Regions from separate parts of the Homo sapiens genome. Here regions 2, 3, 4 and 5 are each linked to region 1. The links are contacts of gene promoters, found by promoter capture Hi-C in human tissues and cell types (Jung and others, 2019). All regions are on one chromosome and are shown on one strand. Each heading gives the region's core, a stretch centred on a gene start or on the middle of the fragment in contact. The rest is flanking DNA. Distances are from core to core; before and after follow the strand shown. Region 1 holds the start of TRIP4 (thyroid hormone receptor interactor 4). Region 2 overlaps ZNF609 (zinc finger protein 609). Region 3 overlaps ZNF609 (zinc finger protein 609). Region 4 overlaps CSNK1G1 (casein kinase 1 gamma 1). Region 5 overlaps CSNK1G1 (casein kinase 1 gamma 1).

Region 1 (2,700 bases), core at 155-2,654:
CACCTCAGCCTTTCAAGTAGCTGAGACTACAGGCATGTGCCACCATGCCAGGCTAATTTTTTTCATTTTTGTAGAGATGAGGATTCTCCTTATGCTGCCCAGACTGGTCCGGAACTCCTGGGCTCAAGTGATCCTCTTGCCTCTGATTCCCAAAGTGCTGGCATTACAGGCATGAGCCACCACGCCCAGTGTGTGTGTGTGTGTGTGTGTGTGTGTTTGTGTGTGTGTCTCCGTGTGCGCTCGGGTGATCCTCCCGCCTCGGCCTCCCAAAGCGCTGGGATTACAGGCATGAGACACTGCGCCCGGCCAATACACTCATGATTTTAATTATAATATTTATGCCAATGAAAACACTAGCAAAAAGGTAAAACAGCTGCCAATTTAATGTGACCACTTAGTCTAAACAGGCTAGTAGAAATGAAGAACTTTTAACCTGCAAATGCAACAAAAAGCCAGAAATGAATGGGAAGACATTATGATCTCCAGAAAAGTTTGGCTAAATTTTCCCCAGCCCATTGTCTTAGCGGGGTAGGGAATTGCAGACAGCCCTTAAATACTGTCATTTTTGGTTGAGAACTCATGTGGAAAGTCCTCAAAGCCAAATTCCAACTCCTGTTTTACTGTTTTTTACCCTCGAGCTTGCTGAGTTGTCTTGGCTCTCCTGGAAAATACATGGCTCAAAAAATAAAATAGAAGTTTTAGCGGTGTGAATCTAGTAGTCGACTACAGGGGGTATTAAAAATAAACACTCCATCCCGGTTAACACGTGAAACCGCGTCGCTACTAAAAATACAAAAAAAATTAGCCGGGCGTGGTGGCGGGTGCCTGTAGTCCCAGCTACTTGGGAGGCTGAGGCAGGAGAATGGCATGAACCCGGGAGGCGGAGCTTGCAGTGAGCCGAGATCATGCCACTGCACTCAAGCCTGGGCGACAGTGCGAGACTCCGTCTCAAAATAAATAAATAAATTAATTAATTAATTAAAAAATTAAAACCACCACCAGAGCAAAAACTTACAGCGCTTACAATACCTTCCACGTGCTGTTTTATTTTACATAAAACCATGACGATTAAAAAGCTGGCCTCTCAGCTTTCCGGGTATTGGTTTGTTTTCCCCCTAAACTGTCGTTTTTATAGGCACTTGCACTGTCTTCTTAGCAGAATTGCCAATGGCCTTCCTCGAGTCCTACGTTTAGCGATTGGCAAGAATCATGCACTGACAGAGCTCGACTCCGGAGGGCACAAGGAAGTAGACAACAAAGCAGGAAGAAGCAGGAGGCGCACAGATGGGCGGGATCTGCACTGGAGGCGGTGCGACCTTGCGGGGCGGTGCAAGCTGGCGGAACCCGCGTGAGAGAGGTTGGTGTTGCGAAGGGAACTAGTCCGGTGCAGGACGTGGGGCTTTTGCAGCTCAGCTGGTTCCGGCTGGGGAAGATGGCGGTGGCTGGGGCGGTGTCCGGGGAGCCGCTGGTGCACTGGTGCACCCAGCAGTTGCGGAAGACTTTCGGCCTGGATGTCAGCGAGGAGATCATTCAGTGAGAACAGTTCGGGTCCAAGCGGGGAAGGAGCTCTGGGATGTGCACTGCCTGAGCGAACCGGGAAGCGGGGAGGACTGAAAAGTTAAGAGAGAAATGTGATAAAGGGGCTGCAGTCTGTAGTCTGTAGGCGTCGAATTTTGGCCTCCACCTTTGTAGTTTAGTTTCTGGAATAGGGTGTCCGGCTCCACAGTCTGCCGGTCGGGCTTTTTTCCTGGGAAGACGCCCAATCTGTAATAATTAGAAATGCAAGGCTGTCCCAGGAGCCAGTTTCCTTTCTAGAGAGAAGGGGCAGGTCAAACTGTATTTCCTAACTTTGAACCCCTTACTCTTTTATTTATTTATTATTATTGTTGTTATTATTGAGACGGAGTCTCTGTCGCCCAGGCTGGCGTGCGGTGGCGCGATCTTGGCTCACTGCAACCTCCGCCTTCCGGGTTCAGGTGATTCACCTGCCTGAGCCTCCCAAGTAGCTGGGATTACAGGCACGCACCACCACACCCGGCTAATTTTTAAAAATTTTTAGTAGAGTCAGTGTTTCACCATGTTGGCCAGGCTAGTCTCCAGCTCCTGATCTCAAGTGATCCGCCCGCCTCGACCTCCCAAAGTGCTGGGATTACAGGCATGAGCCACCGCACCCAGATATACTCTGAACATTTTAGTCGGCCCAATCTGAGTTGTGTCAGTAGAGCCAACAGGGTCAGCTGTGTCAATAGGACCTAGAATTTAAGTGGAAGCAGCGTGGTAGAGTACAAATAGCTTCTGACTCTGGAGTCTCAGGTTCTATATTCTGTTGTCGTTTACCTGTTTTAGAACCCAGGACAACTTAATTTTTCTCTCTGTACCCTGGTTTCTTCATTTATAAGATTAATCATTAGTAGAGCTTATCATGCTTTATGACTCCTATGAAATGGAGATGGTGTACATGACTTAATATCTACTTTCAACTGATTGAAGAACATTTGTTGCGCTGCTGTTACACGCCAGGTGCTGGGGTAACAAAGACAAGACAGTTGGGTTCCCCTTCGTTGATGAGTGCTGAGGTTGGGGAAATGAAGGGGCTTGTTGGAGCACAAAATAAAGGATTCTCATTAAGATTTGAAAAACTCGGAAGGTTTATTGGAAAGGATAACTTTCACCCGAGAACTAAGGAATAGACAGAGGTGG
Region 2 (2,700 bases), core at 50-2,549, 240 kb after region 1:
TCTTTATCCCCACCCAAATTCATGGATTTTATGCCAGACTAATGTACTGTTTGCTGAATGATAGATTGGTAGGAAGCATAGTGGTGGTAGCAAAACATACCTCAGATGCTGGGCCTTGTCTTTCTCATCAGTCTGTGTGCTCTGTTACTATTGAAATCTGGCCCTGATTCTCTTTCATTAGAGACTTTTTAATGAGATGAGGAAAAAATAGAACTTTTTAAAAAACATTTTAGCCAAGTGCAGTTTATGAGGAAGATCATTAAGAAGATCATTATACGCTCATTAATAAGAGTTTCTCTTAGCACAGGATGTTCTCATCTAAACCACTAGATTTGTAGTGGTATCATAAGCCAGAACTTGAAAGGAAGAACCAAAGTCTTATTTATAGCCGTCTGCACTCTGGCAGGAATAGATATAGGACTAGATTAAATACAGAAAAGGTATTTCCTCTAAATGTTCTCCCTGCAACTCAGCTACTACTTTTTCTTCCCTCCACAGATGGAGTCCCCTGTTTCCACACCAGCAGTGCTGCCAATACACCTTTTGGTGCCAGTGGTCAACAATGACATCTCATCTCCCTGTGAGCAGATCATGGTTCGTACCCGATCAGTTGGGGTCAACACATGTGATGTGGCTCTGGCCACAGAGCCTGAGTGCTTGGGCCCCTGTGAACCTGGAACTAGCGTCAACCTTGAAGGCATCGTGTGGCAGGAAACAGAAGATGGTAAGTGTGATATGTGGCTTTCCCCTCCCTTCTCAACCTGCTTCTGCAGGGGAGCCACCAGGGACTTATTGTTGTAAATATTACCAAGTGGTTATTAGAGTCTCAAGTGTCCACAGTCTGCGGGAGATACCCACACAGAGGATTTTAGCAGACTTAGCAAAATTTCCCAGCTTCTAGAGATTCTTCCCTTCATAGTATTCAACAGTGTTGATCCTGGTACTTATGATATGCAGTCATGTGATAGGTATTGGCCAGGTAATTCAAACTGTATCTGTACTCTCCATATTTTATATGGGAGAGTTAGATTATAAATTAAATTTGAGGTCAGGCCTGAAGAGAAAAATTAATAAAAGGGCAGCTGAGGGAGTCAAGAGGATGGAGAATAGTCACTCTTAAATTCACTTAATGTTGGCTCATTGCATATGCAGCTCTTGCCTTTTTTAACACCTATAGGTACAGCCAGTTCACTCTTCCCACTGATTGCCTCATTGCCCAGCCACCCACACCGCTTCATGTATCTGTCACTTGGTACAGATTTTATAGGAAATGTTTAGATGGTCTTGTTTTCAGGCATCCACTAAGCAGTTGGCTCACTGTAGGTTGCTGTTGCCCAAGGCATCCAGACTTCTTGCATGTTCCACTTGCCCCTGAGAACGGAATCTATTCTGTTTTGAAAATTTATGAACCTGAAAAAATGGAAGGAAGTGTAAAGAGACTTAATGGGGTATTTCAGATCTTTTGGTAACATCTGGTGGCAATTTGATTTTTGCATATTCTTTTTCTGAAGAATCCAAATCCTTGTCAGAGTATATGTGGTTAGAGAGTCTGGGCCTCAGTCCCATCATGTCTCTGCATCAGTAAACAGACTTTCAAACTGTCCTCACTCTGAGGAGTTTAGAGGCCCAGAGGAGCACAGCTAATCATCTCTGATTATCACAGAGCTATTTTGTCAGTCTGCCCCTAGAAATTCAGGCATTTCATTCTGGTCATTCTAATAAAATCTGTTCCCCTGAATATTTTGTTGTCATTCAGTATTTATTTAAAGTTTACCGTGCAATAGGTGCTGATGTGTTACAGGTTAAGAACTCTGTATTCTTGTCTGTGTCATCATTAGGAATGTAATACATCTTCAGCTTTCAGAATAACGTCGCTAATGAGGTTTTATTGTGTGCCTGAGTGGTAGAAGCTGATGCAGAGAAGGTAGAGAGAGAGTTTAACTCTAGAGGTTGACTCTGGATATGTGTATACAATATACAATCTGAAAATCACAAAGTGGCTATCTGATTTTTAAAATGTCATCTGCTTATGGACAAATGTCTGAACAGTCACAGAGTCTGTTGGAATGACAGACATATCCGGACCATATCTCTGTGCCACCAAGCAACCTTCAAGGCCTCTTACCTCAGTATATTGAAGATAGAATAAATCGATTTCCTGCCTGTTTGTTCTGCTTGCCTTTATGATGGTGACTCTTTTCCAAGAACAAGATGCTTTTTTTATGTGAACCTAACAAAAACTTTGAGAGAGTGAGGCTAATGCTTTCACTCTCCTGAGGACAATGAATACCTTTTTATCTGAGGATCCCTTCCTGCCAGGGCAAAATTAACACATAATTTTTTTTTATTTTTTGTAAATCGTTTGCACTGGAAGACTCTCTGTCAGGTTGTCACAGGCAGCCTATTATTACCAAGTTCCCCTGTTACGTACACTTTTTTTTTTTTTTTTGAGATGGAGTCTCACCCTGTCACCCAGGCTGGAGTACAGTGGTGCGATCTTGGCTCACTGCAACCTCTGCCTCCCAGGTTCAAGCGATTCTTCTCTCTCAGCCTCCTGAGTAGTGGGGACTACAGGCACATACCACCACGCCTGGTCCATTTTTGTATTTTTAGTAGAGATGGGGTTTCACCGTGCTGGCCACGCTGGTCTTGAACTCCTGACCTTGTGATCCACCTGCCTCAACCTCCCAAAGTGCTGGG
Region 3 (2,700 bases), core at 41-2,540, 190 kb after region 1:
AGACAAAATCTGGACTACATATCTTTATTGCTGCTTGGGAAGTGGCCTGGGAGTTCAAATTCAAGGATTTGAAGCTTTGTACAGCTGCCCCAGATAACCTGCTCTCATTGGGATGAGGATGAAGTATTTCCACATGATTGCTCAAGTCCCTTTTCTCTTTGCCCTGATGCCCCCTCCCTCCTCTCTATTTCATTAATTGCTTAGCAGTTGCTGATGGAATTAAAACGAAATGTGTCTGCAGCCTCTGTGGTTTGCTGTCAGAACTCTCTTTCTAAGGTCTTTATCTTACTGCTAGGGATGGGTGAACATCTGATTTTGAAGCAAGAGGAGGGAGGGACCTGTGGCTGTAGTTAAATGCATTTTTCTAAAAGCAGCAGCTTGCAGAGTTGGACTCCTCCTGAAGCACTATTCATTTTACCAAGCCATGCCCTAGTCCCTTATGCTGTTCATTAATGGGGCTTGTATGTGGCAGCACAGTATATAGAAATGAATCCTGCTGAATTGCTTTTGTTGGTGATGTGGAAAGTGCTTTTCATTTTTAACTAAGAACAAGAAGGAAACAGCCTCAAAGTGTGAAAGAGTCAAAACCAAATCCCGGGGTTTCTGTGGAAGACAAGAATCTGGATATGGCTGAGGCGGGTGGATTACCTGACATCTGGAGTTCAAGACCAGCCTAACCAACATGGAGAAACCCCGTCTCTACTAAAAATACAAAATTATCTGGGTGTGGTGGCACATGCCTGTATTCCCAGCTACTCAGGAGGCTGAGGCAGGAAAATCACTTGAACCTGGGAGGCGGAGGTTGCAGTGAGCCTAGATCGCACCATTGCACTCCAGCCTGGGCAACAAGAACTCCATTTCAAAAAAAAAAAAGGAAGAAGAGGGGAAAACCAGAGGTTATCTATAATCAGTAGGATTTTTTTGCACATACAGAATTTCTGGCAATAATAATCTTTTGGACACAGGATGGGAATAACAACCATGGAGGAACTTCTGTTTTCTTAGGGAGGTCAACGTATTTATTTTCTCTTAATACCGAATTCTCTTTTCTTATTCATGGTTTTGGTTTTGTGTACTATTAATTATATAAATTAATGGGATCCCAGGTAGTATTTGTATATTTACAAAAAGGTTATGAAATTTAAGCAAGGTAAACTTAAAGATAGCCACTTGAATTTTGCCAAAATTTGGAACTTAATCTACATTCTAACCAAGCAAGCTGGTTTTATCTGAGAAAATATAAATAATTACTTGATATACTTGGCCGGGCAAGGTGGCTCACGCCTGTAATCCCAGCACTTTGGGAGGCCGAGGCAGGTGGATCACGGGGTCAGGAAATCAAGACCATCCTGGCTAACGCAGTGAAACCCCGTCTCTTCTAAAAATACAAAAAATTAGTCAGGCGCGGTGGCGGGCACCTGTAGTCCCAGCTACTTGGGAGGCTGAGGCAGGAGAATGGCACGAACCTGGGAGGCGGAGCTTGCAGTGAGCCGAGATCGCGCCGCTGCACTCCAGCCTGGGCGACAGAGCGAGACTCAGTCTCAAATAATAATAATAATAATTACTTGATATACTTGAAAAATTAATAAAAATGGGGGCTAATCAGGATTAGGCACCTTGAGAAACCAAAACCCCTGGTTTGCCTTCTTTTAGGTCAAATTTATCTACTTAGTTTATATTATAACTTACAGGTATAAATGTGGTTGTTGTTATTAATAATAATCTTTTATTCAGTGTCTACTTGCTGCCAGTTTCATGAGGCTTTCTTTAAACATTAATACTGACTTTAGGCTAGCTTAAATATATTATAAATTCTGATACAGATTTCTCTAGTCATGTGCTTCTTAGTTATGATGTCAATTCAGAATTTTTTATCAGAATTTTGTTCTAGAAAAAAAAAAAGTCAACACACGTCACTGCTATAAATTATATCCCAGAATGGGGGCTAAAATAAACTTGCAATATCTTTAAAAAATCTAACTTCCATGCCCTATTCTAGAAAGCTACTGGATGTTTCTACGAAAAGGAAGATGTGATAGAGGAAAGATGAAATTCAATAAACAAGAAAGGTTAAAGGAATCCTCAAAATAGTGGATGGAGCCAGGCGTGGTGGCTCAAGCCTGTAATCCCAGCACTTTGGGAGACTGAAGCGAATGGATCACTCGAGGTCAGGAGTTCGAGACCAGCCTGGGAGGTGGAGGTTGCAGTGAGCTGAGATCATGCTACTGCACTCCAGCCTGGGAGACAGAGCGAGACTCCATCTCAAAAAAAAAAAAAAAAAAAAAAGAATGAACTGAAGGCCCATTTTAAGAATCATATATATACACATATAAATATATACATATATATGTATATATACATATATGTGTATATATACATATAAATATATACATATATGTATATATACACATAAATATATATATGTATGTATACACATAAATATATATATGTATGTATACACATAAATATATATATGTATATATACACATAAATATATACATATATGTATATATACACAAATATATACATATATGTATATATACACACAAATATATACATATATGTGTATATATACACACAAATATATACATATGTGTATATATACACACAATATATACATATATGTGTATATATACACACAAATACATATATATGTATATATATACACACAAATACATACATATATATGTATATATATAC
Region 4 (2,700 bases), core at 46-2,545, 150 kb before region 1:
GGCTGCAGTAAGCTATGATCACGCCACTACACTCCAGCCTGGGTGACAGAGCAAGACCCTGTCCCTTAAAAAAAAAAAAAAAAAAAAAAAAATATATATATATATATATATATATATGAAAAAAAACCCACATTCCTAGTGCAGGTTTGCTTACTGTGTGACTTTAGGTAAGTTACTGAAGTTCCTGTGCTCAAAAATGGGAAAAAAAGAAACAACCACATAAAGTGCCTATTAGACTGAGCCCTACTGACTTGGGCTCCTGAATTACAGCTATGGCGTGTATTCTGAATTCAAACCTCCAGAGCACCCATTTTTTCCCTGGAGTTGGGCCAGGGCTGTGCCATGCCCCCCCAGGGATAGAGATTCACAGCTGGAACCCAACCCCCTGGATCTGGGCTGCTAAAGGTACCTCAAGACCCTGAGCCTAGGATCCTAGTCTCACGGCTGCTTGTAGGCTATGTCAGATACCAAGAGTCTCCCCATTGTGGGGAAAATGAGAACAGGAGGACCCAAAAGTCTTTTCCAACAAGGATATTAACAACCTTCTGCCATCACTACCAAAAAACTCTATACCCTAGGCCACTAAGGCATCCACATTTATTCCTGATGTTTAATGTAGCCAAAGAAGTTGCACAGAGGCTGTATCACTAAACCTACCTGCACACAGATTCATCACACTCTTCCCAACCGGCACACTAAGACCCAACTGCAGGTGAAAGTCTTTGTCTATCAAAGCCACTCTAGAAAGTTTAAGAGAGTCAACAGTTCCATTAGATGCACAAACATCAACACAGTGGTACAGAAACATGAAAAAGCAAGAAAATATGACACCACCAAAGAAGCATAACTCTTTAGTAATAGACCCCAATGAAAAGAAATTTTAAAACTGCTGGAAAAGGAACTCCAAATAATGATCTTTTGTTGTTGTTGTTGTATGTTTTTTTTCTTTGTTTTTGTTTTTGTTTTGAGACAGGATCTCACTCTGTCACTCAGGCTGGAGTGCAGTGGCACAAACATGGCTCACTGCAACCTCAACTTCCTGGGCTCAAGCAATCCTCCTGCCTCAGCCCCACAAGTAGCTGGGACTATAGGTGCGTACCACCACACCTGGCTAATTATTTTTGTCTTTTTCATAGAGATGGGGTCTTGCTATGTTCCCTAGGCTGATCTCAAACTCCTGAGCTCCATCGATCCACTTGCCTTGGCCTCCAAAAGTGATGGGATTACAGGTGTAAGTCACCCATGCCTGACCTAAAATAATAATCTTAAGGAAACTTAATGAGATACCAGAAAATACAGACAAGTAAGTCAACAAAACCAGACAAATAATTCATGATATAAACTAGAAATTCAACTAAGAGATAGATATAGAAAAGAACCAAACAGATTTCCCACAGATGAAGAATTCAATGAATTAAATAAAAAGTACAACAGAAATTCAACAGCAGACGTAAGCAGAAGAAAGTCTCTGAGCTTGATGAGAGGTCATTTGAAACTACTCAGTTAACAGAACAAAACAAAATAAGGCGGGAGCAATGTTTCATGCCTGTAATCCTAGCACTCTGGGAGGCTGAGGCGGGTGGATCACTTGAGGTCAGGAGTTCAAGACCAGCCTGGCTAACATGGTAAAACCTTGTCTCTACTAAACATACAAAAATTAGCCAGGCATAGTGGTGTATGCCTGTAATCCCAGCTACGCGGGAGGCTGAGGCAGGAGAATAGCTGGAACCCCGGAGGCAGAGACTGCAGTGAGCTAAGATTGTGCCACTGCACCCCAACCTGGGTGACAGAGTAAGACTCCGTCTCAACAAACTAAACAAAACAAAACAAAAATAATGAAAAAGAGTGAAGAAAGCTTACAAGACTTATGGGACACCATTAAGTGAACAAACATGCATATTATATGATTTCTAGAAGAAGAGATGAAAAAAGGCATAGAAAACCTATTTAATGAAATAACAACTGAAAATTTTTCATGTCTAAGGAGAGATATGAACATCCAGGTCCAGGGAGCTCAAAGGTTCCCAAATATATTTAACCCAAAAAGGTCCACTTTATATTACAGTCCTAAATTGTGAAAAGTCAAACACAAAGAGAGTACTCTAAAAACAGCAAGAAAAAAGAGTCAAGAAAATTATAAGGGAGTAACAGCAGATTTCTCAGTGGAAACCTTACAGGCCAGGAGAGAATGAAATGATATGTGCAAAGTAATGGAAAGAAAAAAAAAACTCTCAGCCAAAAATACTACATATAGCAAAGCTATCCTTCAGAAATGAGAGAGCAATAAAGTCTTTCCCAGACAAGCAAAAACTGAAGGAATCTGTCACTACTAGACTGGACTTACAAGAAATGCTCAAGAGAATCCTGCATCTGGAGGTCAAAAGATGATAATTACCATCATAAAAATACGTAAATCTATAAAACTCACTGATAAAGCAGATACACAAAGGAGAAAGAGAAAAAGAAAAAGAATCAAACCGTATCACTACAGAAAACCACCAAGTTGCGATGATTAACAGTAAGAGAGGAATAAAGAATATATAAAGCAACCAGAAAAAGATTAACAAAATGAGAGGAGTAATTCCTCACCTGTGAAAAATAGCCTTGAATATAAACCGATTATATTCTCCCACTTACAAGATGCAGACTGGATGAACTGATAAAAAACGATGACCCAACTATATACTGCCTACAAGAAAC
Region 5 (2,700 bases), core at 152-2,651, 170 kb before region 1:
TTGCTCTGCTGCCCAGGCTGGAGTGCAGTTGCATGATCTTAGATCAGTGCAACCTCCGCCTCCTGGGTTCAAGCTTTTCTCTTGCCTCAGCCTCCTGAGTAGCTGGGACTACAGACTCAGCTAATTTTGTTTTTAGTTTTACTCTTGCCTCAGCCTCCTGAGTAGCTGGGACTACAGACTATGGCTAATTTTTTTTTTGTTTGTTTTTGGTAGAGATGAGATTTCACCATGTTGGCCAGGCTGGTCTCAAACTCCTGGCCTCAAGTGATCTGCCTGCCTTGGCCTCCCAAAGTGCTGGGATTACAGGCATGAGCCTCCGTGCCTGGCCACTGAGTGTATAATTCTAAAAAAATTCTTTCAAGAGAGATGGCTAGAATGAAAGGTCCAGAAGCCATCTAGAATCACCAGACATCTTGACGATGTAAAGTAGTGCCAAGAATAGATGGAGCAAAAAACAGAACCTAAGTCCCTGATGGCTGTGGAGTAACCATGCTAATGTTGGACTTTTCTTCTCTCTGGATTTTTTTTATCAAAAAGAAAAATCAATCTCCACCTTGACTGAGCTACTTGTATTTGGATTTTTAAAAAGCAGCCAACTCTAATCCTAATTAATAAACATATTACTCCATTCGTTGGTTAAATTGCAAATCTGGGCATAATATCCTCTTTCTAAAGTACAAGCTAAAAGTCAGGCTTGCTTAGAAATATAATATTGGCATAATTTCCTACACTTGTTGCCAATACTTAAGGTTCAGTTTAAATGAGACAACTGATCTTGTTCTTAATAATCCTTAGTATCAAATCTAGATTATCTTTTGCCAGAAGTTTCCATGTTTACAATGAAGTCACAAAAGGATTTTGAGTAATATCTACAATTTCTAACTATAATGTCACCCATTACTCCTACCTAGGAACTTGGAAGAATTAAGAGTTCCTGCTCGCTGCATTATTGGTTTTATTAAGTACCCTGAGACCTCACAACACACTGGCAGGCTTTGGGATGCTCAAAGCAACTTCTAGACCACTGAGTGGTTTTGAAGCATTTCTAGGAGAGGGTCAAGGTCCGAGATACCAGTGTAGAAAAAGCTCAAGTCAGAGTCTTAGATCTAGTATTTGCTTCTGCTTTCAACTCTGGCACATTCCTTAGCCTCTCTGGGTTAGCTTATTCATCTGTAAAGAGGAGGGGGTTTACACAATGAGATACCATCTCACGCCAGTCAGAATGGTGATTATTAAAAAGTCAGGAAACAACAGATGCTGGAGAGGCTATGGAGAAATAGGAACACTTTTACACTGTTGGTAGGAATGTAAATTAGTTCAACCATTGTGGAAGACAGTATGGTGATTCCTTAAGGATATAGAACCAGAAATACCACTTGACCCAGCAATCCCATTACTGAGTATATACCCAAAGGAATATAAATCATTCTACTATAAAGACACATGCACATGTATGTTTACTGCAGCACTATTTACAATAGCAAAGACATGGAACCAACCCAAATGCCCATCAATGATAGACTGGATAAAGAAAATATGGTACATACACACCATGGAATACTATGCAGCCATAAAAAGGAACAAGATCATGTCCTTTGCAGGGACATGAATGAAGCTGGAAGCCATCATCCTCAGCAAACTAACACAGGAACAGAAAACCAAACACCACATGTTCTCACTCATAAGTGGGAGTTGAACATTGAGAACACATGGACACAGAGAGGGGAACAACACACACCAGGGCCTGTTGGTGGATGGGGGGTCGGGGGAGGGAACTTAGAAGACGGGTCAATAGGTGTAGCACACCACCATGGCACACATGTACCTACGTAACAAACCTGCACATTCTGCACATGTATCCCGTTTTTTTTCTCCTTAGAAGAAATAAAGAAATAACAACAACAACACCACCAAAAAAAAAAAAAAAAAAAAAAGAGGAGGGGGTTTAGACTGGTTCCTTTCAAAATCCAAATTCTTATGGCCAGGATTTCCTTCTAGCTACCTTCTGGGTTCCTCTTTGTAAAGCCACAGAACTATGAATGAAACTCACCTCCATATTTTATGAAATAACGTGTGGCACCAATTCAAATATAAGCTGGTAGTGAAACTCAACTGGAAGTGTATCTATCAGAAATATCTTTAAAACTTAAAAAAAAAAAAAAACCCAAAATGAGATGCAGTGACTTCACCTCCTACCTACTGAGTCAGAATTTCTAGGAGTGGAAGCAAACATTGCTCCACAAGTGATTCTGATGTGTAACCTCAGCTGAAAAACACTATATCTAGAGAGTAGAAATAAAGGGTTTTGCTTTGTTTTATGATTAATATAAGGATTCAGAATACAGTGACAGGTCTCTTTCAGAAGTTATTTCAGATCAAAACAACTGGACTCAATACCTTTTGAAGGAAAGAATTTTAAGGCAAGTTAAAAAGATTTCTCTGTTTAAAGTTTCTTAGTTATTTTCTTACAGAAAATATACCTTTGAGCATAAAAGTTTCTTTGGGAGATGTAGCTGTAATTTATTAGAACTATCTGTACAGAAAGCTCCCCATGCAAGTTCTACTCTGAGCCTGGTTTTTCGCAGGAGTGCCCATAAAGTGGTCTGTGCTGGTGGTAAAAGACACAAACACAAGCACACTAAGAAAGTCTGTCTCTTTGGTCAGAGATTACCACACAGTAACGGCTTATCAGCTGGGCTG

The links. Contacts are between HindIII fragments. The study calls those that stand out against the background at their distance.
Region 2: a contact is called between a fragment that was not itself captured here and the fragment with the promoter of TRIP4 in region 1, in 3 of the 25 tissues and cell types used here (dorsolateral prefrontal cortex, liver and small bowel).
Region 3: a fragment that was not itself captured here is called in contact with the fragment with the promoter of TRIP4 in region 1 in 1 of the 25 tissues and cell types used here (spleen).
Region 4: a fragment that was not itself captured here is called in contact with the fragment with the promoter of TRIP4 in region 1 in 1 of the 25 tissues and cell types used here (mesendoderm cells).
Region 5: a contact is called between a fragment that was not itself captured here and the fragment with the promoter of TRIP4 in region 1, in 1 of the 25 tissues and cell types used here (mesenchymal stem cells).

The regions. Positions count from the first base shown.
Region 1 is chr15:64,386,432-64,389,131 of GRCh38, forward strand. It overlaps TRIP4 (thyroid hormone receptor interactor 4), which reads left to right and starts at 1,405. Exons shown (of 13, transcript NM_016213.5): 1 at 1,405-1,533. The coding sequence starts at 1,433. It also overlaps a transcript of PCLAF not described here. RefSeq lists enhancers at 1,120-1,620, 1,202-1,691, 1,621-2,121. The HindIII fragment of the contact is 11,205 bases long and covers 1-2,700 here.
Region 2 is chr15:64,622,329-64,625,028 of GRCh38, forward strand. ZNF609 (zinc finger protein 609) reads left to right here. Exons shown (of 10, transcript NM_015042.2): 3 at 499-724. The region is part of intron 3 of LOC101930091 (a long non-coding RNA gene); the gene reads right to left. Among named protein-coding and RNA genes, the nearest start is that of OAZ2, 80 kb to the right of the region's middle. RefSeq lists an enhancer at 321-400. The HindIII fragment of the contact is 8,404 bases long and covers 1-2,700 here.
Region 3 is chr15:64,574,559-64,577,258 of GRCh38, forward strand. The region is part of intron 2 of ZNF609 (zinc finger protein 609); the gene reads left to right. The region is part of intron 4 of LOC101930091 (a long non-coding RNA gene); the gene reads right to left. Among named protein-coding and RNA genes, the nearest start is that of ZNF609, 120 kb to the left of the region's middle. The HindIII fragment of the contact is 4,551 bases long and covers 1-2,700 here.
Region 4 is chr15:64,238,428-64,241,127 of GRCh38, forward strand. All of the region lies in intron 4 of CSNK1G1 (casein kinase 1 gamma 1), which reads right to left. Among named protein-coding and RNA genes, the nearest start is that of PPIB, 77 kb to the left of the region's middle. The HindIII fragment of the contact is 3,318 bases long and covers 1-2,700 here.
Region 5 is chr15:64,220,526-64,223,225 of GRCh38, forward strand. All of the region lies in intron 4 of CSNK1G1 (casein kinase 1 gamma 1), which reads right to left. Among named protein-coding and RNA genes, the nearest start is that of PPIB, 59 kb to the left of the region's middle. The HindIII fragment of the contact is 8,374 bases long and covers 1-2,700 here.